Regions from separate parts of the Homo sapiens genome. Here regions 1, 2, 4 and 5 are each linked to region 3. Evidence: promoter capture Hi-C in 16 types of primary human blood cells and fetal thymus (Javierre and others, 2016). All regions are on one chromosome and are shown on one strand. Each heading gives the region's core, a stretch centred on a gene start or on the middle of the fragment in contact. The rest is flanking DNA. Distances are from core to core; before and after follow the strand shown. Region 1 overlaps C1orf52 (chromosome 1 open reading frame 52). Region 2 has its middle 26 kb from the start of BCL10. Region 3 holds the start of ZNHIT6 (zinc finger HIT-type containing 6). Region 4 has its middle 9.0 kb from the start of BCL10. Region 5 overlaps DDAH1 (dimethylarginine dimethylaminohydrolase 1).

Region 1 (5,509 bases), core at 55-2,554, 450 kb after region 3:
ACAGGCACACGCCACCACGCCCAGCTAATTTTTGTATTTTTAGTGGAGATGGGGTTTCAGCATGTTGGCCAGGGTGGTCTCGATCTCCTGACCTCGTGATCCGCCCGCTTCAGCCTCCCAAAGTGCTGGGATTACAGGTGTGAGCCACCGCACCCTGCCACTTCTGGTTTTAGTGGTTGTAAAATGTAGGTAAGCAAAGCTTAGTTATTAGTTGTAGCTTTATTGACATGTATAATAATTAATTGTAAAAGCATAATTAATATAGTGATTTTTAGTTTACACTTTTTAGAATTTAGAAAGTTTGTCTATTGATAAGTTAAACTTACTTGAGTGATTTGAGTTCCATAATAAAAAAATTGTTTCCTTACCAGTACATCTATACTATATGAGACCGAGTAAAAAAGCTCAGTAAAATTGATAAATGAACATTGCTCAGATTTTTTCCTACTCTAGTTTATAAAGCAATGCCTTGTCATGACACTAGATGGCATAGCACTTCTGCTCAAATCACTGATAGCCAGTTACTTTTTAACTTCAGTAGTTTGTGGTTTTGTTATTCAGTTAATTTACTTGTAATAAGTGGCAAATTAAAAGCAAAAATATCTCAGTATCATCTAAATGTATGCTAATGCATAGTGAATATTATAGTAAACTTAGTACTTTCCATTTTTATATTATCACTACTGAAAATCTCAAAAGAGGAGCTTAGTGATAATTAACTCGTTAAAAAGCAAAAGGTGCCGGGTGCGGTGGCTCACGCCTGTAATCCCAGCACTTTGGGAGGCCGAGGTGGGTGGATCACGAGGTCAGGAGATAGAGACCATCCTGGTTAACACCGTGAAACCCCGTCTCTACTAAAAATACAAAAAATTAGCTGGGTGTGATGGCAGGCACCTGTAGTCCCAGCTGCTTGGGAGGCTGAGGCAGGAGAATGGCGTGAACCTGGGAGGTGGAGATTACAATGAGCTGAGATGGTGCCACTGCACTCCATCCTGGGCAACAGAGCAAGACTCCATCTCAAAAAAAAAAAAAAGCAAAACGTTTGGCTTGTTTTGGTGGTATACCATGTTATTTGGTTTGTGGAGCCAGTGTTTTTGTATGAACATGATGAACTACTGATTAAAACTTTGATTTGTAAATTCCTGGGGTGAGTTGATCTGAATTGTATTTTATTCCACTGCCTACATAAATCCATAGTGCTCTGTGAAGCATATGAATAACATCACCGTGCTGTGCTTGAAGGGGAGTGAAGATGAATGGTATTGATTGTTATCTGCATCAATAAATGAGATATTCTGATTATGGTACAGTCAGCAGAAGGGAATTGAAGGCTTAAGATTTTAATATTTCCTTCAAGGAATTTATGATTTGATGTCAGTAGTTCCTCACATTTTTTAATAATGAAGGCTCCTTTCAATATCAAGATATTTTATAGATCTCCACATGATAACCTGTTGAACTTTTTGAGTATCTGTTGATCAAGAAAATAAAGTCAAAAGCTACAATTAATTAGTAATGTGCTCAAAATAAATTTGTATTTTATAAATCATAACATCTTTTCCATGTTACTCTGTCTATATGGAGTTCTTAATACCACACATTTGCTTAGGGAGATGGAATTAGCAACTAGTCTGTGCTACCCTGTATTTTTTTTTTAACCATGTAGTTGGATTTTTTAAAATACAATAAAAGAGTTCACTTTTCCAGGTTTGACAACATTTTTATGAATTGGAAATTTTCTGTGGCTACAGATACTATTAACATTTTGGAAAGGTGTAAAGAACATTGTTTTAATGTAAGGCTCTTCTCTAACCTCCCTCCCCTCTCCAAATTCTCCATAATATGAAGTAGGAAGATATGTATTTTTCTGTTGCCATTAAAATGTTCTGGCCATCGTGGGAGTGGGGATGGGGAGGGCGGGGATGGGAATTAGAACTTACTAGAATAAAATTCCAAATAGAGGTTTGGGGAAACCTACTTGTGAGTGCTTTTTAACCTCAAAATAAGGATTTGGGGTGGGTGGAGAAGGTGATGGGGCAGAAGAAGTTGTTTTTGGAGGAGAGAAAGCAGATTGAAAGGAAAAGGACAGCTGATAGCCACTTAAATAATGTCATCGTTAGAGTGATACCTATTTTTTGTAAAAAGAAAACAATATGCTCCATTCTTACAAAGCATTGATTGTATTTTAATATATACAATGTAAATACTATCATGCAGTGGTGTCCAAGGGAGAGAATACAGTCATGAGTTCTTAGTTTCTGTTATTGGTTGGGCCAATAAAGCCCCTTCATCATCCTTCTTTTCTGCTTATCACTAGAGACAGAAACTAAAAACCATGGCTTCAGGCTGCTAAAAGCCTAAAACAAAACAGAACAACAACAACAAATAAGGCAGGTTGGACAAGCTTGCTGAGTATTTGGGAGCCTTTTTCAAAAGTCTGATTTGGGGGAAGTAAAGTCACTTATTTTAAGCTACCTTAGTATAGCACCTAAAGAGTTACTTTGTGAATTTTGTATGGCTGCAATTGAAAAAAAAAATTGCTCACTTTCACTTGCATTTAAAAATCAGAGCTCTAAAAGTTAATTCTTGTTTTTTATTGGGAAACTCTGAGAGAAACATTAATTGATGAGGGTAATAATTTTGGTATAAAGCCAGTGAAATTTTAATGCTTAACATGTTGGGTTTTTTAAAATTACTGATTGAAACTCTTCCTTTTCTATTTAAAGATGATGAAAAAGATGAGCATACTTCTAAAAAGCGCAAAGTAGAGCCAGGAGAACCAGCAAAGAAGAAAAAGTAGAAACAAATGACCAGAATTTCTGTACTGCTAAACTTGTTGAAATGTTTCTTTGGACAGATTAAGTTGATATTGTGGGTTATTATGCCACATCTCCATGAAAATGCATACGTTAATGAACTAATAAGTATTGCCTCAAGAACTTTCCACTATAGAATTCTTTTTTTATTTAAAACATGTATGTATTTAAAACTCAACTGGTGACTTGTGATTGTGAAATTGATAACACTTGGATGCATTCTTGCTCTCACAGAATTGGTGACATGCTTTGAGAGTTTTGTCACATGTTGACATGCCAATGTTCTTATAAACCTTTTATAAAGGAATATATTTTTAAAGTAAATATATTGTAATGTACTGTGAACTTGTAGGGTGCTTTTCAACAGTCTTTGTACAGTGTAAATAGATCATGGAAATAAAATTACTTATTCAATATTACTATTACTGTATAACATTAACATTTGAATGTTTGTCTGTGACAAGTACCCTATTTGTCGTGTGACATTTTAAGTTGTAATAAGAAGTATTACCATTTAAAGAGTGCCTCCTGTGTTCCAGGTGCTTTGTGCATATATTTTCTCTGATCCTTAAACAACCTAGCGCAAGGTATTATTAGTATTCTCATTTTATAATAAAGAGTGCTTGAGTAGCTTGTCTGATGTTACACAGCTAGTGAGTGGTTCATTTGGAATTTAACTTGGGACACTTGAACCTCAAAATCATCACATTAAACCACCTGTCCACCAGTCAAAATTTAGTCATCTTTCAGGAATGACATCAATTGTCATCTCTTCCAGGTACTTTTTTCTGTTGTACCTGGAGATCCGTTAGTAGAGATCTTTTCCTCTCCTGATTGGATGACTGTACTTGTCATCTGTGCTTTATGGTTATTCATTAATTTCTTTATTAAATTGTAAGTTTACAGGACATTCAGTTAAATTTGAATTTCAGATAAATAATGTTTTAGTATATTTAATATTCAGGACATATACAAAAAATGTGTTTATCTGAAATTCAAATTTAACTGAACATCTTTTATCTGGTAACCCTACTTCTACATGTTTTCTCTACCCAGCTTCTATTTTAATGCTTTGCGTATAGTAATAATAAAATGAACAAGAAGTAGTTGGGAAGGTGTGATCGTTGAGTTCCAAAATGCAGTTATTTGTAGCATTTTGAACAATAAAAAGGTTACACTCTGCATCAATCTTTCCATGAATCTGAAGCCCTTAAGAGATAAGAATTACAGAACAGTGCACATTCAGTGTATAAGAACAAGACAGCCAAGCATGGTGGCTTATGCTTGTAATCCCAGCACTTTGGGAGGCCAAGGTGGGAGGATAGCTTGAGGCCAAGAGTTGGAGACCAGCCTAGACAACATGATAAGACCTCATCTTTACAAAAAATAATTTAGAAAGAAAAAGACATAATCTAAGTATTTTTTTTTAAATCTGTTTTTCCCCATTGTGGAAGATAAAATTTGAACAATTACGCGAGATTTGTTTACCTAGGCATGTGTATCAAGTAGATTAAAATTCATAAAAGTCATTAAGAGTGATTGCATCAGCCATGGTGCTTTGTGGAATGAAGGTCCATAACAGCATGATGGCTTCCAGTATATCATCGAGTTTAGAAAAACCAATTCTATAGCTGCCCATCCTCCAGGTTTGCAAATATATGAATCCCAAAATTGAAGTAATTGCTAAAGCAAGAATATGTTTTTTTAAGATTGTAGTCTTTGTAATGAATTTGGAAATCTGTGGTATCATATACTAAGGAGTGGCATCAAGTGACAAAGCAAGACCATAGTATGTACATGACACCAAACACAACCAAATCAAGTTATATTTGTGAAGTTGTGATTCCCAAGCTCTGGAGAAATCTAAAATTTGGATGCATGTGTTGGTGGAGCAAATATCTCAGAAGTTACTGAAATATTGCAAGGTTCTTAAGTTAGCATGAAAGCAAACTTTTTTCTCTCTTTCCTGGGAGATGTGCAGAGTATGTTGTATGAGGAGGAAGACAGGACTTAGGGAAGAGGCTAAATATTTTGGAGCAAGTCTGACTCAGCCATTTGTATCTCCTGGTTGGAAAACGGACTGTCATATCACTCTACATTCATCATCACATTAGAGAATAGATTATTTTCCCCTTTAGAGATGTCCTGGGAACGTGTTTGCACAAGTGTCCATGTGGGTACTGAGGTGAAGTTTGGTTGAGCTAGTGGAAACCTAGTGGGGAAAAGTCTTAAAAATCCATATACATAAGAAAAATCATCTGTCCAAGTATCTTTCATTTTAGAGAATCGAGTCACTTGATACTTCTGATTGTTTCCTGCACTTTAAGTTAAGCCTGGGCAACATGTTGAGATCCTGATCTGGTTTGGCTGTGTCCCCAACCAAATCTCACTTGAATTGTAATTCCCACAATTCCCACGTGTCATGGGTGGTGACTGAATTATGGGGGTGGGTCTTTCCGGTGCTGTTCTTATGATAGTGAATGAGTCTTACGAGATCTGATGGTTTTAAAAACCATCAGTGCAGGGAGTTGCCCTGCACAAGCTCTCTGCCTGCTGCCCTCCACATAAGATGTGTCTTGCTCCTCTTGCCTTCTGCCATGATTGTGAGGCTTCCTCAGCCATGTGGAACTGTAAGTCCAATTAAACCTGTTTCTTGCAAATTGCCCAGTCTCTGGTATGTCTTTATCAGCAGC
Region 2 (5,463 bases), core at 799-3,298, 400 kb after region 3:
GCAGATCATATGGTCAGAAGAGCAAGACCATCCTGGCCAACATGGTGAAACCCCGTCTCTACTAAAATACAAAAAATTAGCCAGGCGTGGTGGTGCGTGCCTGTAGTCCCAGCTACTTGGGAGGCTGAGGTAGAGGAATCGCTTGAACCCTGGAGGCAGACGTTGCAGTAAGCCAAGATCGCGCCACTGCACTCCAGCCTGGGTGACAGAGCGAGATTCTGTCTCAAAAAAATAAAATAAAATAAAATAACGAAGGCCCCACGGAGAGTCACAGGCAAGTGAAGAGAAGCTGTTGGGTAGGTACAGAGCTTTCACAGAAGCTTAGGGAGCACAGCAACCCCCAGCTCCTCAGGTGGGAGGGAAAAGCAAACCTCTGGTTAGCCAAGTTTTCTGCCAGCTCACAGAGACCGTACTGGGTAGCAATGAAGATGTGGGACCTAGAATCAGAGCTGCTCTCAAATCCTGGCTCTGTCATTTACTTGCTTGGCCCATTACTGTGGTAGCACCAAAGGGAAGCTTGGAGGGATGTTAAACAGCTGTGACCTCCATGAGTTCCCAAGCTGTCCCAAGTGATGATAATAATCATTATCGTGATGGACAGTTCTCACACTTATGTAAAGTATAAATATAACCATATGAGAATTTTTTGGTATTTTTTATCACAATCTAAGTTAATATGTGTGCTTTTCATGCAAACACAGCATCAAGGCAATTCCCTGAGCAGTGCCCCCACCACCCCGTCACCACGATAAACCCCTCCTCTATGTGAATTCTGGAGCCAACACTGACAAATCTCCATTCCTCTCTAAACCTTGGTTTTCTTCTCTGTTACAGCAATAAAGGCTAATATAGTTATTGAGTACTTTCTGTTTGCCAGGCACTGAGCCAGATGTTTTTATGTGAATTATCCCATTTAATCCTTACAACAACAGTATGAAGTAGGTCCTTACCATTCTGTGCTTCAGTTTCTCAAAAGATAGAGACAATAATACCTACCTCCTGGGATTGGAGTCGGGGCTAAAAACAGAAGATGCATGTGGGATATCTGGCCCTGGTGGTGCTCAATGGTACAGTTCTAACAGTTGTAATGATTACAGTGATGTTGGAGAGGCTGCAGGTGAGGAAGTGAAGCAGGAAGAGGAAAAAGATGAGGAAGATGAAATCATGGTTCCTGGTGGGCAGAGATGCCAGCGTATACTTAGACCCTCCCTCAAGTGCTCATCCACAGATGCTGTCCCTCCTGACCATGAGACCTGAAGTGTCTCAGCAGCGTCACCATGCTTGGTTTTATTCATCCACACTCAGCTGAAGTAAAGAGGGGGCCTGCAGAGATCTATAGAGTAAGTGGGTCTGGCCTTGATGTCCCTGGCCTTGGCTGTCAACATCTTATTTCTCTTTTGGTGACACCCCCTCCCCTCAGAAGGGCCCCTCCCTAAGCAAGTTACTTACAAGGAGTTAGAGGGAGAGGGAAAAAAAGGAACAATCCAAAGTAGCCCAGGTCTAGGACTCCAGAGAGAGCCACCAGGTCAGGGAACATGGGAATGAGGTATGAGGTCTGAAGGCCAATAATGTAAGGACACAACAGTCTGGGCCATGTGAAAAGGGGCTAAAGGAGTGTGTGATCAAAATTGGTCATTGTCCAGCTATATCCACTCTCCCCTTCTTCCTTTTAGTAATAGGTTCTTGAAATTTTACCATGCACTTGGCCACTCAGCTGAAGACTACATTTCCCAGCCTCCCTTAAAGCTAATTTATAGTCACAGGAGTAAGTTCTAGCCAATGAGATGTGAACGGAAATGACATGAACAGTTTATAGGACACATCCTTAAAACAGAAGCCACATGCCCTTCCTCTCATTTCCTATCTCCCAATATGCAGAAACCCAGACCTGGTCCTGGTAAAGCAGCTTCAGCCAGGAAGACAAAGGCAATCCCATGGGGTTGGCGAAACCACAAGGAACCAGGCTTCCCAGTTCCCCTCACCCTGGGATGCTCACATATCTTGGAGTTTTTCCTTTAGGATTTTATAAACATCGATATTGTTTGCTCTTTGCATTAAAGCAGCATAACACGTGCCCATTTGCCAATTGTCCAAAATGAGTCTAAAATCCAGGTCCAAGAATGAGAATCCTCTGGCTAGAATCCCAGTCAGCATGTTACCAAATCCAGAGAAATCTTGAGGGCTTCTCTGAGAGGACATGGGACTGGTTTTCAGGGTTTCAGGGGAAAAAAACATAAAATTCTGAGGCTCAGATGCAATTTCTGGGCTGAGGTGCAAGGGGAGGTGAGCCACTCCCATGAGAAAGGGCAGAGAGACCCTCTCTCATCCCCAGATTGCTGGGATCAAGTTCAGGCCAATGCAGAGGACTGGCCTGAGCTTGATCTGGCCAAAGATCCAGTGTGCAACCGTGGGACAGCTCATTCCTGGGAAAAACAAGACCCAGCTTTCTCACCGTTGTATCCTGGCTTGCTCACCATCACATGGCCTGGCACACAGAAGGAGCTCAATAAATATTGATTTGAATATTGACTGAATGAATAATAAGAATTGTACATTTTGAGGTCTTCAAAACAACAACAGTTCTGGCAGCAAACACCAAGAGTTAGACACTCTAAAGGAAAGACAAGTGTTGGCCCTGCTTGGCCAGTTTCTTCATGGAACATCCCTCTGAAAACCCAGGGACTGCAAAGGCTCTTTAAAAAACAGACCTCTCTTTCTCTCTCTCTCTCTCTCTCTCTCTCTCTCTCTCTCTCTCGGCATCCCCGGGCCACTTCCCAAACTGTAGCAAACGGGGAGTTTGAGTACGTCAAAAAGCCCATGGATTTGGAAAAACTGATTTAGGAAGACTGACTAAATGGAACTGCCTTCTTTCACCACTCATTCATTCATGCAACAAAACTTTATTGAGAAAAGATTATAGTCTCTCTCCCCATCCGGAATGAGCTCATGTACTGTCCCAGGCTTTTCTCACAATCACAGCCTCTGCATACCTCCTAGCCTCCCCCTCAAAGAGTGGGTAGGCCATGGGGAGCACAGCCAGGATGCAACAGCTAGGAGCTACTTGAAGATGGAAGCAGAGACACAGTAATACCACAATCCAGGGTTGGAATGAAAATGGATTTCCCCCTGCCAGAATTGTCCTCAGCTACAAACCAACCTTGCTCCTTAGGCCTCCACTCCCCTCCTTCCCATCTGCTGAAGGATGAGTGGGGCTGCCCTTACTCTGAGGTGGCACAATTCAGAGTCCAGGCTGCTGCAAACCCCTGCACATGCTGCTGGCTGGAAAGTGGATGCAGAGATCAGATCAGAAGGCTTTCCTTGTTGGAGCCTGGACACAGGTGCTCATACTACCCACTGCCATTTGGAGTGCAGTGGCTGCTGTCTCCCAAACCCTCCTTGACCTTGGGCAGATTGGAACTGGGCAGTGAGTGACCTGAGGACCCAGGAAAGGGAAAGACTGGAAGGCAGGGGAACCAGCCCTGTGCCTGGGGGTTGGGAGAGGAGTGATAGAAGGGGTAGGAATGGGAAGTAAAATACCTAGGAAACCCTGCCTATTAGGGAACTGTGTCTGAAAGCTTTTTATCAGAAAACCAGTGTGTATGACAATGATGACGGTGACCACGAGCGTGATGTGGGGCCATGCGTGGTATCAGGAGAAAGTGATCATGATCCATCCCTCAGGACAGCCAGCAATGAGGAAAGATGAACTAAAACCCTCACTGGTTGTTTAAAGAAAATACAGATTTAGTTCTTGCTGGAGGAGCTGCTTATTTGTGGTTGACCTTATATTTGCAAAAACCAGGATGCATATTAAAAGAACATGTCAGGCTTTTGTAAAAAAATTTTATTTTGAACTTGTCTGAGACTTGCAGAAGAGTTGCAAAAATAGTACAAAGAGTTATATATATCCCTCATCACGTTCCACTAATGAAAACATCTTACATGACCATAGGATAATGATCAAGAACGAGAAACTAACATTGATACAGTATTATTGACTACACCACAGGCCTTATTTGAATTCCACCACTTTTTCTGCTAATGTCCTTTTTCTGTTCCAGAATCCTAACCAGGACCCCACATTACATTTAGTTGTCATGTCTTCTCATCCACTCCAGTCTGGAACAGTTCCTCAGTCTTTCATGAACTTGACACCCTCGAAGAGTACTGGTCAATTCTTTTGTAGATTGTCTCTTCATTTTGTAGAATGTTTTCTTATGATTGGAATCATGTTATGCATTTTTGGCAAGAATATCACAAAACTGATATTGTGTTCTTCTCATCACATCAAAGTGTTCATAATGTTGATGTGTCATTACTGGAGATGTTTACATTCATCACTTGGTTAAGCTGGTGTCTGCTGAGTTCTCCACTGTAAACATAACTATCTTTCCATTTGTAGTTAGTAAGTAGTTTGGGTGCAATATTTAGATTTTTAACAATCCATTATTTTCTATTGATCATCCTTCTTAACCTCTGCAGGTGTCTGATTCTCCAGTGTAGTATTCTGGTTAGCTTGAGTAGGTCACAGCCCCTTGACCCCAGATTGTCTTGAGGTCAATGGTTTTAGCAATGCCCAATAAATATTCAATGGGTATAGGTGGAAAGTTCCACATGAGACATAACCATAAATGCAATGTACAAGCCTTGTCTGGATCTTGGTTCAAATAAACCAATTATAAAAAGACATGTATAGCAAATTTTAATATAGATAGGATATTGAATGATACTAAGAAATTATTGTTATTTGCGTTAGTGTGATCATGGCATTATGATTATATTAAAAATATCTTTTTCTCATAGAAATATATAGTGAAGTATTTACAGTAAAAGTGATATGATAACAGGGATTTGTTTAAAATAATCCAGGGAAAAAATATGTGGAGAGACACATGATGAGAGAGTGGCAAATGCTGATCACTATTGAGGCAAATAATTGGCACATGGGGTTCCGTTATATTTTTCTAGTTCTGTGTATTTTTTTAATTCCCAAGGTAAAAAGTAGAGGTTTAGATAAATTAAAAAGTGATTTATCTCAGCTAATCTGCCTCAGAAAATACCACACTCATATATGAGTGTAATTTTATTCTGCATTCTGTGAAAACTGGACACTTCCCATACTACAACAAAAGCAAAAAATGATCCCATTCTCAGGATCTGGGTGATTGCTTGCTTTGGGTTCCCAGCCCGGATGACACTCCCCTTTTGGTGGCTTTTTCTCAGGGGCACTCTTTCATCCTTGTCTTCAGTAAGTATTCACCTTTCTTGCTGCTAACTCCTTTCTTTTTTTACCTTTTTCTTTTTTTATAGAGAGATAAGGTCTTGCTGTGTCACCCAGGCTAGAGTGCAGTGGTGTGATTACAGCTCCCTGCAGTCTCAATCTCCTGGGCTCAAGTGATCTTCCCACCTCAGCCTTCGGAGTAGCTGAGACTACAGGCACATGCCACCACACCCAGTGAATTT
Region 3 (5,906 bases), core at 3,407-5,906:
TCACTTGAACCTGGGAGGCGGAGGTTGCAGTGAGCCAAGATAGCACCATTGCCCTCCAGACTGGACAACCAGAGCGAGACTCCATCTCAAAAAAATAAATAAATAAAACGAGTTAAAGGACTACCTTCAGAGAGATAAAAAGGGATATTAGAAATATGAAGCAAAATAAGCTACAGACAATGGTTATGAAAAACATAGTGACTGAAATGAGCTTAGTGGATAGGTTGACTAACAGATTGCATACCATCAAATACCAAAATAGTAAGGTAGAAATTACTTGGGGAACTCTCCCAGAAAGTATCTGGAAGCAATAAAGAGATGGGAAACATAAAAGTTAAAAGGTATGCAGAAAACTCTGATAACAAAACCTAACATTACAAGAAAAAAGAACTACAGATAAATAAACATCCTTCATAGACGAAAACTCCTAAACAAAATGTAAGTTAATTGAATACAATTATATAGAGATATTATAAAACATTTGAGTTTATTAAGGTTGCAGGATATGAAATCAAAATACAAAAATCAATTGTATTTCTGCAACCTAGCAATGAAAAATCCAAAATGAAATTAAATGAGTAATTTCATTCAAAATCACATCAAGGCCAGGTGTGGTGGCTCACGCCTGTAATTTCAGCACTTTGAGAAGCTGAGGTGGGCGGATCCCTTGAGCCCAGGAGTTTGAGACCATCCTGGGCAACATGGCAAAACCCCATCTCTACAAAAAATACCAAAAAAAATTTAGCTGGGCATGGTGGCATGCGCCTGTGGTCCCAGCTACTTGGGAGGTTGAGGTGGGAGAATAGCTTCAACTCAGGAGGTCGAGGCTGCAGTGAGCCATGATTTTGCCACTGTACTCCAGCCTGGGTGACAGAGGGAGACCCTGTGTCAATTTAAAAAAAAACAAAAACCACATCAAGAATAAAATGCTTAGGAATAAATTTAGCAAAAGATATGTAAAAACTTGTACACTGAAAACTACAAAGCATTGTTAAGTGAAGTTAAAGACAATATAAATAAATGGATGGCATTCCGTTTTCATGGATAAGACACAATGTTGTTAAGATGACAATCCTCCCCTCACTTATCTATATATTCCACACAATCCCTATGAAAATCCCACAAGTTCTTTTGTAGAAATTGACAAGCTGGCACTAAATACACAGAGATGCAAACAACCAAGAATAGCCAACACAATTTTCAAAAGAAAAGAAAGTTGGACTTACTATAAAGTTATAATAGAGTATGGTATTTGTGTAAGGATAGACATATAGATCAGTAAAACAGAATATAAGGTCCAGAAATAAATCTTTATCTTTGTGGTCAATTGATTTTTTTAAATATCAAGGCAATTCAAGGAAAAAGAATAGGCTTCAACAACTGGTGCTTGGACAATAAGATATCCATATTAAAAAAAAGAAACTTAAACCATTACCTTGTCCACCTTATGGATGATATCCTTAGTTCTGCCACATGTGGGTTCCACCAACCATGGATCAAATTTCCACAGCTGGTGGAACCTACAGATGTGGAACCATGGATGCAGATGGCAGATTGTAGGACTTGAGCGTTCTCAGATCTGTGGTGGTCCTGGAACCAATCCCCACAGAAACAGAGGGATGACTCTAGATACAAAAGCCAACTCAAAATGGATCACAGACCTAAATGTAAAAGCTAAAACTATAAAACTTCTAGAAAATATAGGAGAAATATCTCTTTGCAACCTTGGGCTAGGCAAAAAGTTATTAGTGTGACACAAAAAGCACCATTCATTTAAAAATTGAGAGGCTGGGTGCAGTGGCTCACTCCTGTAATCCCAGCACTTTGGGAGGTGGGTGGATTACCTGAGGTCAGGAGTTCGAGACCAGCCTGGCCAACATGGTGAAACTCCATCTCTAATAAAAATACAAAAATAATTAGTCAGGTGTGGTGGCACCTGCCTGTAGTCCCAGCTACTCGGGAGGCTGAGGCAGGAGAATCACTTGAACCCAGAAGGCGGAGGTTGCAGTGAGCAGAGATCCCGCCATTGCACTCCAGCCTGGGTGACAAGAGCGAGACTCCATCACAAAAAATAAAAATAAAAATTGATAAACTGGATTTAATTGAAGTGTAAAATTTTTGCTCTTTTAAAGATACAACTAAGAAAAGGAAAAGCCACAAACTGGGAGAAAATATTTGCGAACCATACAAGGAATTGGTATTAATTATGCATTGCTTTGTATCAATTATCCAGAAATTTGGCAGTTTAAAACAAGAAACATTTATCCCCTCCCACAATTTCTGAGTGTCCGGAATCTGGGTTCAGTTGTTGGCCAGAGCCGCAGTCATGTAAAGCTGGACTAAGACTAGAGAATCTTCCTCCAAACACATTCATATGCTATTGACAGGCTGAAATTCCTTGCTGATTGTTGGCCAGTGCATTCGTTTGCCAAGGCCACTATAATGAACTAGCATAGACTGAGTGACTTAAATTTATTTTCTCACAGTTCTAGACGCTAGAACTCCAAAATAAGTTGTCACCAGTCTTGTTTTTTTCTGAGGCCTCTCTCGCTGGCATGCAGGTGGCCACCTCACTGTATCATCGTATAGTCTTTTCTCTCTGCAGGCATCCCTCGTGTCTCTTTTTGTGTCCAAATTTCCTCTTCTTATAAAGATATCAGTCAGATTGGATTAGGGCCGACCTTAATGGTCTCATTTTAACGAAATCACCTTTAAAGGTCCTATCTCCAAATATACTCACAGTCTAAGGTACTGGGTGTTACGGATTTAACACACGAATTTGAGGGGACACAATTCAGCCTGTAAGAGCCAGTAACTTCGGCCCACTACCACATGGGCCTCTTGGTACTCACAACCTGGCAGCTTGCTTCCCCCAGAGTGAATGATCTAGGAAGGAGACCAAAAAAGCAAGAGCCTAAGGCAGAAACCACAGCCTTTCTCCAAACCTAATCTTAGAGGTAACGTATTACTTCTGCTGTATGCTATCAGTGACACAGACCAATCCTGGGATGATGCAGGAGCAGTCTACACATTGGTCTGAACACTGTGGGGGTGGAGAATCACTGGGGAACATACTGGTGCTTGTCTACCACAAACCTATATCCATAATATATGAAGAACTACTACAATTTGATAATAAAAGACGTCAATTAAAAATGGGCAAAAGATCTGAATAAACATTTCATTAAAGAAAATATCCAAATGGCCAGTTGGCAGATGAAAAGATGTTCAACATCATTAGTCATTAAAGAAATGTAAATTCTCAATGACGTACCCCTACACATCTATAATCAAATAACTGATAATACTAAGAATTGGCCGGGATGTAGAGAAATAGGAACCCTCAGCCAGTAGGAATGTAAAATGGTATAGCTACTTTGGAAAACAGTTTGGGCATTTCTTTAAAAATTAACATAAATTTATATGGCCCAGCAATTCCACTCCTAGTTATTTACTTAACGGGAAATGTAAACATGTCCACACAAAGACTTGCATATGAATGTGGAAGCAGAATTATTCGTAATAGCCCAAACTGGAAACAAGCCAAATGCCCACCAACTGGTACATGCATGAAAAAACGTGCCACATTCATACAATGCAATGTTATTCAGCAATACCGGGCATTAGGCACTTTCGCCTAATATATTTATGATGTTCTCTGAGAGAATCCTGCAGAATGCTGGGAATGGGGAATAGCCTGACGCAGGCTGTTACTTAGAAAGAATGGAAAGAAAAATTAATGCCCTCTTTCCTACTTGAAACCCATCATGATTCCCAGTTATACACTGAGTTTGTGTCTGTCACTGACAGTTGATTCCTATGCATGATCTCATATTATCTTCGCAATGACACTGGGAGATTTATATTAATAATACCATGCTCCCTAGTTTATAGCTTCAAGAAACTAAAGCTTGCAAAGGTGTAACATCAGGTGTGTCCTTTTTCATACAAGATTGGATTTAATGGTTAACACAGATAAGGGTGGGTTTTCCCATTTCCAGAGTGTAAGGGTTTCGCTTCTCTCCCTCTGCCGGTCTCCTCCACTGTTTACACCCAGTAGGGCGTGGAGGGTGGCCTAGGGTGTGGCCCAGGAGGCTTCCCTAAGGGAAGGGGGTGGTGGAAACCAGGCGGTTTGAAGCCCATCAGGATTCCCAGTTATATATCGAGTTTGTGTCCGTCACTGCTAGTTGATTTCCATGCATGATCTCATATAATCTTTGCAATGACACTGGGAGATTTATATTAATAATACCATGGTCCCTAGTTTATAGCTTTAAGAAACTAAAGCTTGGAAAGGCCTAATAACATCAGGTGTGTCCTCCATTTTCATGCAAGATTGGATTTAATGGTTAACACAGATTAGGGTGGGTTTTCCCACTTCCAGAGTGTAAGGGTTTCGCTTCTCTCCCTCTGCCGGTCTCCTACACTCTTTACACCCAGCAGGGCGTGGAGGGTGGCCCAGGGAGTGGCCCAGGAGGCTTCTCTAAGGGAAGAGGGTGGTGGAAACCAGGAAGGAGACGAGAACCCCAGCGGGCAAGTCACGCAGTTACGCTTGTTCGCCCAGAGAATCCGGCAGGGCCTCCGCAGAGCCGTAAAGAGCTCTACAAGTCGTGAAGGGGCGAGGCGCAAAAGCGTAGCTTTACGGCGATTCGAGCAGTCGCGTCAAGCAGGCTATTCCGGGTTTGTGGCTGCTTGGCTCCACACGTGGGCCGCCGTAGGTATTCCGACCGGTAATTCCTCCTATTGGTGTGCAGCAGCCACATTGAAGGATAGAGTGGCAGCAGAGGCCAAGGATCGTGAGTTGATGGAGTTTGCTGCTGAAAATGAAGGGAAGTCTGGGGGAGGTCTCCACAGCGTAGCTGAGGGGGTGCGGCTAAGTCCAGAGCCTGGCAGGGAGGGAGTAAGGGACTTAGCAGGGGCGGAGGAGTTCGGCGGCGGAGAGGAGGGGACAGGGCTGACAGGGATAAAGGAGATAGGGGATGGAGAGGAAGGAAGTGGACAAAGGCCAGAGGAAATACCGATGGACCTAACGGTAGTGAAGCAGGAAATTATAGACTGGCCAGGTACAGAAGGCAGGTTGGCTGGCCAGTGGGTAGAACAGGAGGTGGAGGATAGGCCTGAGGTGAAGGATGAGAACGCAGGCGTATTGGAGGTGAAGCAGGAGACGGATAGTAGTTTAGTGGTAAAAGAAGCGAAGGTGGGTGAACCAGAGGTAAAGGAAGAGAAGGTAAAGGAAGAGGTAATGGACTGGTCAGAAGTGAAGGAAGAGAAGGATAACTTGGAGATAAAACAGGAGGAGAAGTTTGTTGGTCAATGCATAAAAGAGGAATTGATGCATGGAGAGTGTGTAAAAGAAGAGAAGGATTTCCTGAAGAAAGAAATCGTGGATGATACAAAGGTGAAAGAAGAGCCTCCGATAAATCACCCGGTGGGCTGCAAGCGGAAACTGGCCATGTCAAGGTAGGGCATGGGGGATTCCATTTAGGGGAATAAAGCTGTGGAGTCCTCATGTCTAGAGTGAAGGAAACCACACTATCAGGAGAAGGTGGAATAATGAAAAATGAGCACAAGTTTGGGTTTCTGGAGTCAGACGGCGTTCGCGGGGGTGGGTTGGGAAGTGGAGGGTGTTGTACATGACAACACAACAAATTCAGTGAAAATACATGAAATTAGTAGTGTCCAATGGGTAATGGTCAAGTTAGGAAAGTGGAAATTCTGGGGACCAAAAGATCAGTTGGAACTGGATCTGGCTTGACTTAATATGCTCTTTACTCGGTATTCCTTTGAGAGAGAATAGAGATGAGAAAGTCTAATAAAACTAACAATGACAAAGTAGATTAAGTTAAAACTAGGCAAAAATACACTTGACCTCAATTATCAAGCTTCTTCATGGGTGCTGTGAATAT
Region 4 (5,988 bases), core at 2-2,501, 420 kb after region 3:
AGACCCCCATCTCTACAAAAAATCAAAAAAATTACCTGGGCATGGTGGTGTGCACCTGTGGTCCCAGCTACATGGGAGGCTAAGGCAGGAGAATCACTGGAGCCCAGGAGGTCAAGGCTGCAGTGAGCCTTATTCACACCACTGCACTCCAGCCTGGGTGATGGAGTGAGACCTCGTCTCAAAGAAAAATAAAAATCACTAGACCAATCACATCACCTTCTGGCTTTTGAGGGGTTTTTTAAGAGACAGAGTCTTGCCCTGTCACCCAGGCAGGAGTGCAGTGGCGCAATCATAATCACGGTAGCCTTTAACTCCTGGGCTCAAGGAACCTTCCTGCTTCAGCCTCCCAAGTAGCTAGGACTACAGGTGCAGACAGGGTCTCATTATGTTGCCCAGGCTGGTCTCAAACTCCTGGCCTCAGGTGATTCTCCTGCCTTGGCCTCCCAAAGCACTGGGATTACAGGCATGAGCCACCATGCCCAGCCACCTTCTCATTTTTTAATTACCTTCTATGACTCCCTCACCACAAAACACACACACACACACACACACACACACACACATATATAGTTTGGGTTGTGCTTGCTTGAATACCTTGCAGGAAAGAAAACATTACTTCCCAATGCAGCTCACTCTAGAGAAGTTTAGGTTTTGTTTTGTTTTGTTTTGTTTACCTTATATTGACTCTGACATTAAAATTTTTTTATAACCTAGGTGATAGGTCAATAGGTGCAGCAAACCACCATGGCACATGTCTACCTATGTGACAAACCTACACATCTGGCACATGTATCCTGGAACTTAAAATAAAATAAAATTAATTTTTTAAAAATCATTTTATATTTTCAGTTTGGGGTTATCCACAAATTAATAAAAATACTTTCTGGATAAGTGGCTTTCAAACAATGCTCTATAAAGCCCTTGGTGCTTTGAGGAAGGACTCAGAAGTAGTGGGGCAGGGTGGGTGGGCAAGACAGAAAACTTCTACAGACCCGGTAGACAGAGCCTTGAGTTTAGTTTCCACAGAGAATTTTATTGGAAGAAAGGGTTGCACAGTTAGAAAAACATTTGAAAACCCCTGTTCCAGATATTCATCCCACAAGTCATTATTATAAATGTTGAATCAAATAGAGGTGAGAGCAGAGCATTAAGATACATTTCCCTGCATACTGATGGCAATCACTGTGTCTTGGGTATGGCAGGAAAGCCAGTTGCGAACCAATCTCATTGTTCCACATGGACCCCCAAGGCTTAAGAAGGACCCTGTAAATGTCTCCCTGAAGCTGTCAAGAGTGTGCGTTTCTGAGTTTCACCATTCGTTGAGATCACTGCTTTTCAGCCCTGGATCTGCATTAGAATCAACTGGGAAGTTTTAAAACTACCACTGCTCCTCGAGAAATTAAATATCGTTACCACGCGACCCAGTCATTTCACTCCTAGGTATATACCCAAGAGAAATGAAGACCCAAGTTCAAATGTCTGAAGGCCACATCCCTATATACCAGCTGGCGAATACTGGGGGAGGAACTAGATGTCCCAATTTGCAAATGAATTTTTATAATATTATTCATAACAGCCATATAGCCATATGAATAGCATTATTCATAATGGCCAAAAATATGTGGAATTAATCCAAATCTCTCTCAATTGATGATTGCATAAACAAAATGTGACATATTTATACAATGGAATATTATTCAGCCATAAAAAGAAATGAAGTACTGATTTGTGCTACAGCATGGATGAACCTTGAAAACATTGTTAAGTGAAAGAAGCCAGACACAAAAGGCCATATATTGTTATCATTCCATTTATATTAAATGTTCAGTATGGCAAATCTATAGCAATAGAAAGTAGACTAATGGTTGTCTAGGGATAAGAAAGATGAGAGGATTAGGGGTGGTGGCTACAGATACAACTATCTTTTTGGAGTGATGAAATATTCTGAAATTGATTGTGGTGATGGTTGTAGAACTCTGTGAATATACTTAAAACCACTGAATTGTATACTTTAAATTGTATATGTATAAACGTATACTTAAATTGTATGGTATGTATATTATATCTCAATAAAACTGTTATCACAAAGATAATAACTACCACTGCTTTGGCTTCCACAGAATTTTTGTTAGGTAAAATATTTTATTAAAGAACAATTTAAATATATATAAAACAAGTGTTATGGTTTGAATGGGTATCTTCAAAATTCAGGTGTTGCCAATATGACAGTATTAAGAGGTGGGGCTTTTAAAAAGTGATTAGGCCATGAGGGCCCCTCCCTTAGGAATAGAATTAGTGCTTTTATAAAATGGCTTCATGTAACGAATTCATTCCTCTTGCTCTTTTTCTACCTTCCACCATATGAAAACTTAGCATTTCTCCTCTCTGAAGAATGCAGCAATAAGGCATCATCTTGGAAGCAGAGCGCAGCCCTCACCAGACACCAAATGCCGGTGCTTTGATCTTGGACTTTCAGCCTCCAGAACTGCTTGAAGAAATTTTCTCTGACCCCACACCCTTGGGGCTAGTCTGGAATACAGGCCTTTCCTTCATATTTCCAAGACATAGCTCTGTTTGCTTCTGTGATCTTTGAGAGTGAAGGCACCTCTTCTTATTCATATTCCATTCTTGGTCTTTCTATATACAGTGTCCCCTTAGCAGCAAATACCTCCTTTAAATGGAGGAAATTCTCTGGCACATACACTAAAACCATGGCTTCTCCCCAGTGAGAGGGCTGGGCTTTGGAAAGCAATAGAGACGATGGTGGAAGTAACAGCTCAGTACTTATAGCTAGCAGGCACACATCCTCCTCCCTTCACTTTGGATTTTTCCAAAGAATTTTTTAAATTGATCTAGGTGGGACTTGGATGTCCATTCCCAAGTGATTCTATTAAATAGCCTAGACTGAGAACCACTGACTCCAGTCATGGGAATGGGAAGGGAAATGATTGATTTTGAGGGATGTCACCCTCAAAGAATATTAAAGGAGTAGCTCTTGAAAGCCTAGATGTTCCCACTCTAGGCTTTCAAGAGCTACTCCTTTAATATTCTTTTCTGAGGCTGGGCACAGTGGCTCATGCCTGTAATCCCAGCATTTTGGGGGACCAAGGCAGGTGGATCACTTGAGCCCAGGAGTTCAAGACTAGCCTGGGCAATATGGTGAAACCCCATCTCTACAAAAAAATACAAAAATTAGCTGGGCATGGTGGTGCATGCCTGTAGTCCCAGCACCTTGGGAGGCTGAGGTGGGAGGATCACTTGAGTCCAGGAGGTTGAGGCTGCAGTGAGCTGATGTCATGGGATCCTGTGGGTGTCACTTCACCAGCCGGAAACCTGTGTGGCCAGTGGCGCTTTTCCCTGAGTTTTTACTTAGGCCCGCTGGGCTTGTTCCACCCAATCAGCCTGGCAGGCTGTGCTCAGCTTGCACTACTGGCCTGAATCTCATGCCTGCCAAGGGAGAGCCAGGCACAGAGCAGCAAGGGGTGTGTGAGTGAGCAAGCATGGTGCCCGGCCACTGAGCACAGCCAGGCACACTGGCTGTGGTGGGGCAGGCAGTTCCAAGCACCAGCACAGGCGCCAGCTCCCTGTGAGGCTGTGGCTGGACCAGGTGGACCACAAGCAGCTTCCATGGCTGGCACTGAGGAACGCAGTGGAACTTGGAAGCTTGGAGATGCCGGGAACCACAGAGCCCCAGAGAGGGTGTTACAGCCCTGGCTTGGGGAGCTCCTAGGTCTGGGCTCCCAGAAGGGCTGCAGCTCTCTCTCCTTCTTGTTGCCCACAACGTGGTAAGCAAGGGGTGTATTTCAGACCCATTTGTGTTATAGCTCTTTTAGCCCAGGCATTCAGCGCATCCCAAGTTCTTGTCCTGTGTCTAGGAAGAATGAGGTACGCAGACAAGTGGAGGGTGAGCAAGTCAAAGAGGAGTTTGATTGAGTGACAGAACAGCTTAGAGGAAACCACAGTGGGTAGCTCCTCTCCACAGGCAGGTTGTCCCAATAGTGTTCAGCTCTCAGCAGAGGAGACCCTAGAGTAGGCAGCTCCTCTCCACAGGCAGGTTGTCCCAACAGTGTTCAGCTCTCAGCAGAGGAGACCCTAGAGTGGGCAGCTCCTCTCTGCAGCTGGTAGTCCCAACTTATGCCCAGCTCTCAGCAGAGAGGAGATCCTGGAGCAGGTAGCTCCTCTCCAAAGGCAGGTCATCTGGTCATCGGAGTCTGGCTGAGTCCAGGGGTTTTTATGGGCTTCAGAGGGGAGGAAGTACATGCTGATTGGTTCACGGGTGGCAATGGGTGGGCCTGAAAATAGCACCATAAGTTCCCATTCTGGCCCATCAGCCCCACCACCAGGCTTTAGGCCATCCCTGGCTTGAAGGTGAGGCTTCACCAGGGACCTGCCCCTTTCTGCCCAGGAGCTTGTCTGCCTCCTGCCACTGCCCAAGCTATTTGTGTTGAGGGGCTCCTGCAGGCCCATGCTGAGCCACCCTCAGTGCTCCCTCAGCCTCCCTCCTGTGCTCGTCAGTGCCCAAAGCCTGGAGGGGAGCCAAGGCGGCAGGGGTCTGGCATGTCAGTGCTGCTCTGAGCATGCATACACCTGGCTGGGTTGCAAGAGGGCCTGGGCTTGGCCTCAACTTTGCTCCAAAATCAGAGTCGGCACCGGGAGTGGGGAGAGACCAGGCAACAGGAGCAGGTACTTCTGAGCCTGCAGGGGCAGGGAGGCTTCCCTGGCCCCCAAGAGATGCCCGGGTCCACAGCCATGGCTGGATGGCTGCAGCTGTGCCTGAGAGGGCAGGGCTCCTGCCTGATTCTGGCCCCCAAGAGCACAGGGATGTCCAGGTCTGGAGCTGTGCCTGGGCAGCTGCAGCTGCACCCAGGGAGCACAAGGCTCCCGCCCTGCCAACTTGGAAGTGGGCAGGGCTTCCACAGTTCCCGGCTCCTCCCAGCCCTGTAGAGCTCGCAGCCCTGGCCACGCCTCCCCCACTGCAGCCAGTGTCATGATAGCAGCCACTCCAGAAGGGCCACCCACGCCATCACCAAGATTGCAACACTGAACTCCAGCCTGGGCAACAGAGCAAGACCCTGTCTCAAAAAAAAAAAGTTATTTTCTGGAATTATGCTTGCCATCGAACCCCACCTGGAGTTTGCAAATATCATCTTCCTCTTTCTGAGACTTGCATTAGTTAACATTGCCAGTCTTCAGCTACTCTCATTGTTGCACAGTGCCCTTCATGGATCCTAAGCTGGAGCAGATACATCATTTGTGAGGCTCAGGATATAATGATTCAGAGAATGCTCAAGCATCCTAGCTTCTCTGAATCATTATGTCCTGAAGCACTTAGCTCAGTCTACAGCTAGTAATTAAGAACACTGGCCTGGCCGGGCGCGGTGGCTCACGCCTGTAATCCCAGCACTTTGGGAGGCCGAGGCGGGTGGATCATGAGGTCAGGAGATCGAGACCATCCTGGCTAACAAGGTGAAACCCCGTCTCTACTAAAAAAATACAAAAAATTAGCCGGGCGCGGTGGCGGGCGCCTGTAGTCCCAGCTACTCGGGAGGCTGAGGCAGGAGAATGGCGTGAACCCGGGAAGCGGAGCTTGCAGTGAGCTGAGATTGCGCCACTGCAGTCCGCAGTCCGGCCTGGGCGACAGAGCGAGACTCCGTCTCAAAAAAAAAAAAAAAAAAAAAAAAAAAAGAACACTGGCCTTATTATCAAGGCTGAACTGGAATCCCGGTTCTGCTACTTGGTGGGAGAATGACCTTGAGCAAATCATGTTTCTAAGCCTCGGATTTCTCATCTCTAAAGTGAGGATAATAAAGCCTACCTGTAAGGACTGTTATAGGCATTAAATTCCCACCACAGATGTAAAGTGCTTGGCTCAGAGTGAATGTGAAATAAACTGCTAGTGATTATTTCTTCCCAGGGAGTTGTAAGACTGGGAGATCTAGCCCCTCCTCCAATATCCCCCTGCTGGCATATAGGTATGCAACCTCCAAA
Region 5 (5,194 bases), core at 945-3,444, 380 kb after region 3:
AATTATGAGTGACCCAAAAATGTGCTTTGAATATTCCCTAAACATCTCTAACTACCTTTTATATACCTTTGCTTCAGAGTTTGACCAATAAGTTCTAAATTGTTCCATGAAACAACATAGCCCAGGATTTTTTAAAACATAATTACCATTATACAAAGAAAGCATGAGTAAGAAGCAAGAGAATGGAGTGGGCTTTCAGTCGTTTGGATGAGAAAATTCCCAGAAATGTTGGGAACTGCCGGAAATGCCTGGTTGTTAATGCAACTTGCCATGCAGATTCTCTTGGGCTGAAAGCCAGACAGTTCCCACTCTATTTTGTGACAGCTCCACCCTGGGGAACAAGGCCAATTCCTCCAACCAGCAGCTGCATAACAGACCATGACAGTGTGGCCACAATGATTCTCAGAGCTATTTCCTCCCTACAGCTGCGTGCCTTCTTCGTTAAGGAGTTGCCTATGATAAAAGTGAGGTTGACTGTCTTTTTACTGCTAGCATACTCTTCATGTGCTTGTCCTGCCTTAAATGATAGCTTTTCATCTCCTGAAGGCATCTCTTTCCCTTTCCCACCTCACACTGCCATTGTGCTGAGCCCGAAGGGGGCGTACCATAAAAGATTGTTGAACAGAGCTGACCACCAATTGATCTAATCCCCATAATAATCACTCAAATTAGTTTCCATAAAGTGGAATCATTCCTTTGGCAAAATTCAGAAAGGGCATTCGGAACAGCAACTTGACTTCTCAGATCTTTCCCCCAAATCCTGTAGAACTCATTTGTATCATTCAGAGTTGAGTCTGGGGCCTCTCAGGATATCAAGTAATCTGCTCTTAGGGAAAGGAATTTGTGGTGACGTGTGGAGGGTTTAGGTGTGTCTCCTTTCCATTCTGGCTTGAGACACAGTGAGAAGCAGGAAGTACAGTCCCTGGGGTTGGAAAAACACTACATACAGCACTGGAGCAGTACCACCTCCTCCATGCTTTTTTAGGAAAAAATGTTGGAACAGAACTAAACGGCCCAACAGCTGCATTCTCGGGATATTTGAAATGGTGCTCATCTTTTAACAAAGCCTCTGTGCATCCACAAAGGGGAAACAGAACCTGTTCCTTGGCCTCACTGTTGCTCAGTCCTCAGGAGCCTGAGCTCTTTGAGGTGATACCCTACCAGACAGGATGTGTTAACACATCCTCACAGTGCCCATTAGGGTGTAAAAAGGGAAAGATGTTCAAGAGCAACACAGCCTTCCTGCATCTTTCTCTGCATGTTCCCTGCTGAATGGCCAGCACCCTGTCTTGTGTACATACATGTGTCTCCTAAACCCAGCTACAAATAAATGGTAAGCTTATTCAGACAATAACAACATACAAGAGAAAGGAAAATAATTACTCCAACAGGAAAGGAGAAATCTGTTCTTTGCCTCGAAAGACAAAATCTCTTTGTGTTTATAATAAGCACCTTTAGCATTTTCAAGGGGGAAAAGCATATTTCTTGTTTGTTATCTACAGTTACCACTTCATACATCCCTTTTATTTAGAAAGGCTACACCTGACATAACTTTTGTAATTTTTTTCAGTTAAGCAGAACTACTCACTGCTCCAAATGGGGCCTGTTCATTATTAAAAGTCATTTCTTTGGGCATATTCTTAAATCTGTCTTAAAATGATAACCGTGGAGTCTTGATAAATTAATTGAAAAGCTTCTCCTAAGGTAGCTTTGTTGGGGTTTTGTTAAGACATTTATTTTAAGAGTAACTCTCAGTAGAATTTATCAATGAATTACTTCATATATTCTCAGCATTAAATTATTTCCCCACTAAAGATATTATAATTCCTTTCCTCCCAGTAATGAAAAATTGAAACTGTCCTCAAATAATTCTAAAGTAGGTACTGGCCTTTATGTTAGTAAGTATAGGAATGTCCCCACCAGAAGCTTTAAATGATAAAAAATAAGGCTCAGAAAAGGAAGAAGCATTAAAGAATGAAGAGTGATTACAATTTCAAATACATGCCAGTAACTGAAGAACAATTCAAATAGGAACCAAGTAGGGGAGAGGATTGTTCACTCAAGGAGGTGAGGTTGGGGGATAGGGCAGAGCATGGAAACAGCTGAAGTCAACTGGACAGGCCCTGTCACTTCAGTGACACGTGGTACTTTCTGAGATGGGCACAACCTTGGAGATTTTAGTTTGTTTCCTCACTGGTAAACAAGAAGTCAGCACTGATAACAATCCCTGAGAACACTTCCTCTGGAATGTATGACATTCCATGCTTTTGCTTTGTAGTCACCTCCGGACATGCATGAGTCACACTGAGAGGTGGGGAATTTGCCCAGACCGCTAGATCCAGTGAATAAAGTCAGGCCTAAGAGATGTAGTCTTGCCATGTTTCTTTCTCTTTCAATTCATCTGGTACTAAGAGACATGGGTGATTTATTTATCTGTGGGTAAAGAGTACAATGAAGCTTCTGCAGATCACAAATTAAAATGGAAAGCCAACTGGCAGTTATCTGGTGATTATGAGTGGTGGGAGCACTTAGCCTGAATGTGTGGGCCAAAATATGCCACACACAGTTTTCCCAATTGCTTAGAAAAGTAAGTCAATGTGAGTAATAGATTTTCTAGATTTTGTTTTGTTTGTGTCTAGGTTGACCAGGTAGCAGTGGTTGTGTATACATGTTCTAAGGATCTCTCTGAGGTCCTCAAACCACTGGGGTCCTACTTAGTAAACCTCTGGCTCAGAGAACTGCCTCCCCAGTTGTCTGGAAGAAATTCTGAACTTCTTGGGTAAACTAGGTCCAATTCATGTGACAGGATGACCGTCCAGTTCTGACTGCAAACATGAGCAGACTGGCCATCTTGGTCCACCCTCAACAGCACATAATAAACAGAGATTTAGACATAGTGGAATCCCATTCCCTGCACCTGGAAAAAAGCACGTTTGTGAGACTGACCAAAAGCTATTGTCTAGAAGTTTCACAAATCCTAACTGCCACCTTGCATATCGAGGCAGCCCCACTCTACTATGAAGAAGTCAATCTGCCCATTGGGTTTATGGACTATTTTACTAAATTGGGGTCACAACCTGACAGAGGCTTATGTGTTCGGTTTGATATACACAAAAGTTTTTCTTTTCTTTCTTTCTGTGAATGCCCTTAGGTGCCACATACTCTGCAGGTAATTCCAGATCCAACCCCCTGTTGTCTTACTTTGTCATCCAGAGTCATTTGAGTTAGGACCACAGAGTATAGTGCCCTTCTGTATGGCTTTGAAAAACAGACAAACCTTGGCCTTGTTGATTTTAGCCATGTTTTTTCACATTAAAAATAATGAGTTGTATTTCTGTTTCTGGACATAGACCATACCTTGTTTCTCTGAGGGAATTCAATTGTTTACCCATGTGATTGACCACACAGTTCATCACAGTGCCCTCCTGAGGTTCTCTGTAGCGTTTAAAAAGGTGAAAGGAATGAAGAAATGAACCAGTTAGTGCAAACATATTTTGGTCACCTGCTATATGTCAAGTGACTTGCAAGAAACAAAGAGGGAAGTGAACCGACTTTTATTACACATTTAATATCTGCTAGAAGCTTGTGCTAAGCATTTTATGTACATTATCTGTTTTGGGGTTTTTTTTAAATAATCTTCAGAGTTACCCTGTGGAGGATAGGTATAGCATTCCCATCCCATTTTACTGCTGAGGGAATTGAGGCTCACAGGGCATATGTGACTTTCCCAAAGTCACACAATTAGTGTGTGGCTGAGCAAGGCTTCAGACCCAGACCTTTCTGACTCTGAAGCCCATGCTCTGTCCACCTCATTATGCCTGGACCTGCATTCAAGGAGGTAGCAGTCTGGTTGAAGAGAGCAAAACTGCACAAAAACTCATAGTAAAATTTGTCCTTATTCCAAAAACTTTGGGAACTTTGTAGCAATTATCTCTCTAGGGGATCTAGGTAGAAGGGATGCTAAGCCTGCAACACTACTAGATTACATGTTAACGTAGGCCTTAGAAAGAAGGAAGCTGAAGAAGTAATTGTGAGAATATGGTAGGTCTAGTCTTTTATGGTTTTTAAGACTAAGGATTAGACTCCAAGACAGATTATCTGTGGCTCAGGCTGGAGTGCAGTGGCACTATCTCGGCTGGTGGCAACCTCTATGATCTTCCCACCTCAGCCTCCTGAGGAGGTGACTACAGGTGTGTGCCACCACACCCAGCTAATTTTTTTGTAGAGACAGGGTTTCGCCATGTTGCCCAGGCTGGTCTCAAACTCCCGGGCTCAGGCGGTCTTCATTTGTTCCCTTGCACACAATAATAAATGGAAGCTGCTATTATTGTGTTTTGGAAGCAGCCAAAAAGAAAATCTGCATAAGAAGAACTAAATTGCAATTCGTAACAAAAGAGCTACTTGGGTCTGTTTTTTTATTCTCTCAAGCGTCTTCATATTATTTCTGGGCATATCCATTTTATAAAGAGGGCTAAATTGAATATGTTGTTAATTTTCTTAGAAAAGTTAATCTTTAGGAGTGTCTTTAACTTCTTAATTGCCCACATGTTGGATTAGATCTAAGGTTTCTAATCAGGGCTGTAAAGAAAGACCCACTCCATAGGTGAGCCCCTCTATGGGCCTATCCCTTCAAGAACAATTTAAATTCAAAAGTGCAAGAGAGATGTCCAGTTAAGTCCTTTACCTATACCAGACGGTAGCAGGTCATAACAGGATTACATACAAGAAAAGAATTAATGGTACTGCCAGAGAATGAATAATAAGTATCAAGTGAATGTGAAAAAGTAGGTGTTATGTAGTTTGTAGGAGGTAGTTTCCTGCTGCAGAAGTTGAGAAAGAGCAAAGTGAGATGATTAAGAAACGTTTTGAGTTGCACAGATCTGGGTTTGAATCTACCTATGTGACCTAAAGCAAGTTATTTGACCTCTCTCAGTGCAGTTTCTTCATCTGTAAAATAGAAGTTTGAGATTAGATAATAAATGTAAAATGTTTGGCATGGTGCCCTGCTAGTTCTTATTGTAATATAATTATCTATTTTTCTGTCAGTTTCCTCCACTAAACTGTAATCTTGGAAAACTGGGTCTGTGACCTGTTCATCTGTATGTCTCAGCCTTTCATACAGTGCATAAGCTCATCCCCATTCCTGATGTTTCATTCCATGTGAAGGGTATTCCATTATGGGATTGCTCTTGGC

What was found. Contacts are between HindIII fragments. The CHiCAGO score rates a contact against its expected background, and 5 or more counts as called.
Region 1: a fragment that was not itself captured here is called in contact with the fragment with the promoter of ZNHIT6 in region 3 in 1 of 17 cell types (endothelial precursors); the score reaches 5.8 in endothelial precursors.
Region 2: a contact is called between a fragment that was not itself captured here and the fragment with the promoter of ZNHIT6 in region 3, in 3 of 17 cell types (total B cells, endothelial precursors and naive B cells). The highest score is 9.3, in total B cells.
Region 4: a contact is called between a fragment that was not itself captured here and the fragment with the promoter of ZNHIT6 in region 3, in 1 of 17 cell types (total B cells). The highest score is 5.5, in total B cells.
Region 5: a contact is called between a fragment that was not itself captured here and the fragment with the promoter of ZNHIT6 in region 3, in 1 of 17 cell types (naive B cells). The highest score is 5.1, in naive B cells.

Annotation. Positions count from the first base shown.
Region 1 is chr1:85,249,920-85,255,428 of GRCh38, reverse strand. It overlaps C1orf52 (chromosome 1 open reading frame 52), which reads left to right. Exons shown (of 3, transcript NM_198077.4): 3 at 2,727-5,476. The coding sequence ends at 2,800. Among named protein-coding and RNA genes, the nearest start is that of C1orf52, 7.0 kb to the left of the region's middle. The HindIII fragment of the contact is 2,205 bases long and covers 202-2,406 here.
Region 2 is chr1:85,300,262-85,305,724 of GRCh38, reverse strand. No RefSeq gene overlaps it. Among named protein-coding and RNA genes, the nearest start is that of BCL10, 26 kb to the right of the region's middle. The HindIII fragment of the contact is 3,059 bases long and covers 519-3,577 here.
Region 3 is chr1:85,707,183-85,713,088 of GRCh38, reverse strand. It overlaps ZNHIT6 (zinc finger HIT-type containing 6), which reads left to right and starts at 4,656. Exons shown (of 10, transcript NM_017953.4): 1 at 4,656-5,460. The coding sequence starts at 4,805. RefSeq lists enhancers at 3,733-4,565, 4,504-4,863, 4,566-5,399. The HindIII fragment of the contact is 1,595 bases long and covers 4,290-5,884 here.
Region 4 is chr1:85,282,647-85,288,634 of GRCh38, reverse strand. No RefSeq gene overlaps it. Among named protein-coding and RNA genes, the nearest start is that of BCL10, 9.0 kb to the right of the region's middle. The HindIII fragment of the contact is 4,829 bases long and covers 1-3,665 here.
Region 5 is chr1:85,326,210-85,331,403 of GRCh38, reverse strand. The region is part of intron 4 of DDAH1 (dimethylarginine dimethylaminohydrolase 1); the gene reads left to right. Among named protein-coding and RNA genes, the nearest start is that of BCL10, 52 kb to the right of the region's middle. RefSeq lists enhancers at 2,086-2,664, 3,140-3,309. The HindIII fragment of the contact is 531 bases long and covers 1,929-2,459 here.